2 separate regions of the Homo sapiens genome follow, and region 1 is linked to region 2. Evidence: promoter capture Hi-C in 16 types of primary human blood cells and fetal thymus (Javierre and others, 2016). All regions are on one chromosome and are shown on one strand. Each heading gives the region's core, a stretch centred on a gene start or on the middle of the fragment in contact. The rest is flanking DNA. Distances are from core to core; before and after follow the strand shown.

Region 1 (3,118 bases), core at 257-2,756, 3.3 Mb after region 2:
TAAGGCAAAGAACATTCACCTTTCGGGCCAGGCACAGTGGCTCACGCCTGTAATCCCAGCACTTTGGGAAGCCGAGGCAGGCGGATCACGAGGTCAGGAGATCGAGATCATCCTGGCTAACACGGTGAAACCCCGTCTCTACTAAAAATACAAAAAATTAGGCCAGGCGCGGTGGCTCACACCTGTAATCCCAGCACTTTGAGAGGCCAAGGCGGGTGGATCACCTGAGGTCAGGAATTCGAGACCAGCCTGACCAACATGGAGAAAACTGATCTCTACTAAGGAAAATACAAAATTTTAGCCAGGCATGGTGGCACATGCCTGTAATCCCAGCTACTCAGGAAGGCTGAGGCAGAAGACTCACTTGAACCTGGGAGCAGAGGTTGTGATGAGCTGAGATCGCACCATTGCACCCCAGCCTGGGCAACAAGAGCAAAACCCCGTCTCAAATAAATAAATAAATAAATAAAACAAAAAAATTAGCCAGGTGTGGTGGCACACGCCTGTAGTCCCAGCTACTCAGGAGGTTGAGGCAGGAGAATCGCTTGAACCCGGGAGGCAGAGATTGCAGTGAGCTGAAATCTGGCCACTGCACTCCAGCCTGGGCGACAGAGCAAGCCTCCATCTCAAAAAAAAAAAAAAAAAAAAAGAGAAAAAACAACAAAAAAACAAAACCATGCACCTTTCCCTGATTTAAATGATTCATCAGTAATTATCCAAATACATGGTACTAGCCTATTAGGGAAATACCATGGTTTTAAGACAGTTGTTCTCAATCTTTTTTTTCTTCTTTTCACGAAGGCCCATTCAGGCTAGAGCAGAGAGGGGGAAGCTTACATCCAGTAAACAAAATAGCAGTGATTTAAATAAAACTGAGACCAGAAAACCGACTGCTTTCTACATTTTAGGAACTGATTATCATAAACATAAACTTATCTAACAATATCTGTATTTCTATTTGTAGCAAGCACAAAAGTTACAGTGTGCAGCACACTTTAATCACTGCGTGATTTAATTACTGTGTCAATAAAGGCAGTGGCACAGTCAGAATTTGACAGAATTGAGAAAAGTCCTGCTGAAAAGATGAGACAAGTTCTGAGATGATCATTTTTTATAATGTAAGCACTGTGTACATTTATAAATGGCACGGTAGGGATGGGAGTGGGCTGGGGGTAGAGAATTCCGTAAAACAAGGGAACTTGAGGAAATGCAAAAGACTGAAAAAAACCTGGCATCTTCCAAAGGGTAAAATTAGTATGATTGTTTAAACTATTTTGTCCTTAATTTTAGTCATTTCTAATTTAACAGCTAAAGAACAATTACTGTATAATAACTGAAATATTTAGTATACTTGGTATTACAGCACCCTCTATCACATGATCATATACAGAATACATTTCTATGAACTGGTTGCTTTAATCTGTGAACATTTATGTAGCTCTCTACTGGTTCTAGGGTTTAGTTTACTACTTCCCATCCACGGAGTCAAAAGGACTACTAACTTGTGCAGGCTTAGTATCACCAGTATATTTTAGTACCGTCTGTCCTGCAACAGCAAAAAGCATTATTGACAAAGCAATCCTGAACTCTAAATTATTCCAGGTGTGGTCCTAGTACCAACAGCATCAGAATCACCTGAGATTTTACTAGAGCTACACTAATCCAGCTGTATCCTCAGACCTTCCCTCCCAGTTATAACCTCTGGTGTTGAGGCCCAGCAATCTGTTTTAACAAGCCTTCTAGAGAATCTGGATGCATGCTCCAGTTTGAGAAGCATTACTATAGGAGAAATACAATCAAAGAGTCAAGTTAACATGTGCTATCTAAACTCTAAAGGAAATTTGTTTCATTATATATTTTGATATCCACAGCACCATTCCAATAAAACATTTAGAACAACTCTGTTAGTACTCCAAGATTACAGGAAAAAAAGAACATTATTAAAGGAAAATGTGTTGATTTTACTAACTTTGGGGAAATTACTTTTCCTTTCTCTGATTATCTAAAAGAAACGTGACATGCAAACGAATCTACATTGAGCATTTCTGAGGCTACCTTTCTGAAACTTCCATGGCCTATTTTAAAGCAAATTACTACATTCTGCTTCTCGATGGGTTCCTAACATACACAGCAGGCTTTTACAACAGCGCTTTAATAGGCCAAAGGAAACAAAAGCTTTTACAGCAGAGGCCAATGTAAGCCACAAAGCTCGTGTCATCTTCCTACCAGGCAATTAATACAGGGTCCCAGTCCTCAAAGATTAAAGAACTGATACGGGGAAGACTGAGAATGACCCAGCAACAACGCATAAGGAAGCAAAAAATAAAAGGACGCCGTTTCTTCTGGACTTAAAACTAGAGAAAGAACAGTTTCCGCTCCATTTTGGGTTTGTAAAGCTCCTCCTACAGGCAGCTTCCGCTTCAGAGTCGCCACAAAGTCCCTCCCGCGCGGGAACTCGGCGGGGCGGAGACTCGGGTCCCTCCCCGTCCAGGGCGGGAGAAAGGAAAGCAGGGGCCACGGTTTCTCTGGAAGGTTCCGAGAGAAGGGCGCGTGCCACCTCCGCGGGTGGCGGGAGACTCGGCACCAGATGGCGCTGCCGCACCGAGAGCCAGAGCCTGGGCCGCTGGGGAGACGGGAAGAGGCGTCACCGGATCCCTTCCTTTGCGCTCGTTGCCGGAAATGTGCGCTGCAACCAGCCTCTGGTCCCGGATATTAAGACTTCTGGAGGGTTCCCGCGTGAGGGCGGGGCCAGAACCGGAACCGAACGGCGACCGACGAGCCCCGGAGCGGAAACCCGGGGCGGCGCCAGCGGGCCCTGGTTGCTGGTGCGCGCGCCTCGTCTTGGTGGGAGGGCGAGGGGCGGGGTCTCGCCGTGCGCTTGCGCACTTTGGGGACGTAGGCGCGGTCTGCGTGTGCGTCTTTTTCAATGTTTGCACGTTTGCTAGGCAGGCAAGGCGGAAATGGTGGCGTAATGGGTTTTGTTTTAAATCCCGCCCACGGGGTTTGGGTTTCTGGCTGTGAGTCAGGTTTCTGGAAGGCTTTATGGAAAATTAATGGTATAAGAGGTAAAACTGGATCTGTACTGTTTTCTTAGTCCTTAGCGATCCAAATGCAGTCT
Region 2 (2,990 bases), core at 417-2,916:
TATGGAATGGCTCACATATTCACAGCAACACTATGAATGACACACGATTTTAATGCCCATTTTACAGAGTTTAATAACCTATTCAAGCCACAAGGCCAGTAAATGATGCAACAGGGATTTGCACCCAGAAGTCGAACTCCAGAACACTGGTTTTACCTTTGACTCAGTTCAAATCAAACAATCCAAAAGTTTTTTGAGACTTATACCCCATTATCATCCTTTTTTTCCCCCCTCAGGGGTACTAAGAAAAGGGGTAGTGAGAACAGGGTACTAACAACAAGGATACTGAGAACAAAGTATATTAAGTATTGGGGTAGTGAGAACATGAGAACAAGGGACTAAACATAGGGGTACTGGGAACAGAGTTGTAAGAAAAGAGTACTACGTACAGGGGTACTACAGACAGGCAACTGAGTATAGCAGTACTAAAAATACGGTACTAGGAAGAGGGTTAACAGAACAGGACACTAAAAACAAAGTACTAAATACAGGAGTATTACAAATAGAGGTACTGAGAACTGGGTACTGAGAACTGGATACTGAGAATAGAGTAGTGAAAACAGAAAGAGATGACTTTCTCAGAAGTACCAACTTCATCTAGGTTCCTAAGTCTCCTTTAGCGATGAACCAGACCGATCATTTACTCTATGTCCTTCCAGCCATATCCCAGATCTATGACAGCTCTGCCGATGTCACATTATTTTTACTGAAATTTCTGCACCTATCATGAGTTCAACAGAACTGTTATTGCTTTGCACATGTTGGTATAAACTTTAATTTAGGGCAAACACTCTAATTCTCAACCACTAACCCAGTCACTGCAAACCGGCCCATTTGGAAGTGGGGAGGCAGGCCCTGCAGATGCGGTTTGCGTTAAGATCGGGTTTCTTCTTCCACCTCCCATCCCCAGGCCTCAGCTAAGTCTGATACCTCGAGTTTGACGTTTCCCGCGCTGCCAGTCGAGGCAGTCCCACCGCAGTTCAGGGCCTGGTCGCTCTTCTTCTTTTTATACTTGTCCTTGTACATCTTGTTGCGGTGTTTCTTGCACATCCACGGTTTGCGCTGCTTGGCCACCTGGCTCGTGGTCTCGCTGCAGCCTTCGTAGGTGCAGGTCTTGCTCATGCTGCCCCCACCGCTGCCCCGCCTCCGGGCGCCCCCGCTGCTGCCCTCGCCCCCCGAGTGAGTCTCCTCGTCCTCTAGATCCTCCAAACTAGCCGCGCTCTCGCCTCCCCCCGGAGGGTCCGAAGTGTCTAACAGGTCCGCCTCGTCCTCCCCAGCCTCCTCTTCGCCATCCCCGGCCCCTTCGCACAGGTACCTAACGGGCTTGCCCGCCCCAACGCTGCCCCCGGGGGCCGCAGCCTCGTCCTGCCCAGCACAGGGTTGCATCACTAGCAGGGTGAATTGAGAGGCCGCGGCCGCCACCGAGGCTGGCGCCAAGGTGGGAGCCGCAGCCGGGGCTAGGGCCGCGGGGTGGGGCACGCCGCTGGCGGCGCCCGGCCCCGCGCCCTCCGCTACACCCTGCGCCTCCATGCTGCTAAGACCTGGCCGGGGTCCACGACCCCGGGCTTTTAGCACCTGCTTGGCCTAACGGCACTTCGCGAACCAAAGACTCAGGACACGCTGGGGTAAAAGGCGCCTATACCGGGAAGGCGCCCCGACTGCGCCTGCGCGACCGCAGCCTGCGCGTCAGCGTGTGTACGCCCGCGGGCTGTCAGGGAGCGCGGCGCCTCTGGGGGCGGGGCTGAGCGCACAACCAACGGGACTGACTGCGCATGTGCGGCCGCGGCCCCTTCGGCCAGCTGGGGGATTCGTAGACAGGGTCTGGGGGCTGTGTCAGGTGAAAACCTGCAGTGGCTGGCAAGGCAGCGCCGTTTTACCTGATCCTATTGTATCTAAAGCGGTTCAAAGTATCTTCTACAGGAGTTCCAGTATGCAAATTAGGATTGTTCCTGAGCGGTCTCACGACTTGTAGTGTTAGGATGCTAATTTTATTATTTCCCCCACAAACTGCCTGCAAGGGGAGATTTGAAGCTGGGATGCAGTGGTGTCACAGCCTAGAGTCACTAGCTCGCAGTCCATGAAGGCAGAGGTGGCTTATTTGAAAATAGTGGAGCGGAGAGGGATGGGCCACACCTTTGGCCGAGTTGTATTTGCATTGAGGGATAACTTTGTTTTTTTTCTCCTGGAAACTCACTTGATTGTTAGTACTTGCTCTTTGCTGTGGCTGCTGAGATAAGTCTTAACGTTTTCGTTTAACACAGTGAAAATGTGTGAAAAGGAATACTGAATGGCAAACGTTTAAAAAAACAATGAATGTTCTACCAGTTCTATCAGTTGCTGGGCAATTGCTGGTTGTTAAATCTTGGCTTGCCCAAATCCCAGGAGAGAAAATATCCTGCCGTATCCTGAACTGTTAAGTAGATGTTCTTTTTCCCTTCATCCTATTCTTTCGCCTAGTCAGATTTCCCATCCCACCTACCGGAAAGCAATGACTTTATTCAACAAACTATAAATCCATTCACACTAAGATGTTTGGGTGCTGACATATAGGTAGATCAGTTATGTTTTAAAGAGAGGCATATGGAAGGGAGAAGGTTTGGAATTAGAGCAACCTAGGTAGTACTTCCTGTGTGACTACAGCAAGTTCGTGACAGCCTCTCCGAGCCTCAGTTTCCTCATCAGTAAAGCCTGCAGTCGGTGGTGTGCTAGCGCCAACTGATGGTAACTGGTTGCTAAAATTTCAGGAATATAATTAGCAGAAAAATTAAACACTGCTATTATTAAAAGTCTTACTACATAAACTTACAATAAGATTATATTAAAAACAAAGGGTACAAATCTCAAAACTCTTCATTTTCTAATTATTTTATTATGTTTTATCATTATCTGTGCTTTTAAGGTTATTTATGTCTATTGTATCTGTATGCGGAAATATTATTTAGTGGTGTGTTACTGCACATTTTCCCAACTCTGCCTTCAGTATGTCATGT

Evidence for each region. Contacts are between HindIII fragments. The CHiCAGO score rates a contact against its expected background, and 5 or more counts as called.
Region 1: a fragment that was not itself captured here is called in contact with the fragment with the promoter of RFXAP in region 2 in 2 of 17 cell types (non-activated CD4 T cells and total CD4 T cells); the score reaches 8.6 in non-activated CD4 T cells.

What each region holds. Positions count from the first base shown.
Region 1 is chr13:33,542,302-33,545,419 of GRCh38, reverse strand. It overlaps a transcript of STARD13 not described here. Among named protein-coding and RNA genes, the nearest start is that of LINC02344, 210 kb to the right of the region's middle. RefSeq lists enhancers at 2,304-2,413, 2,514-2,613. The HindIII fragment of the contact is 1,343 bases long and covers 835-2,177 here.
Region 2 is chr13:36,817,898-36,820,887 of GRCh38, reverse strand. RFXAP (regulatory factor X associated protein) reads right to left here and starts at 1,666. Exons shown (of 3, transcript NM_000538.4): 1 at 931-1,666. The coding sequence starts at 1,530. LOC124903158 (a long non-coding RNA gene) reads left to right here and starts at 1,817. Exons shown (of 2, transcript XR_007063760.1): 1 at 1,817-2,721. RefSeq lists enhancers at 859-1,088, 1,099-1,148 and a silencer at 1,379-1,748. The HindIII fragment of the contact is 8,641 bases long and covers 1-2,990 here.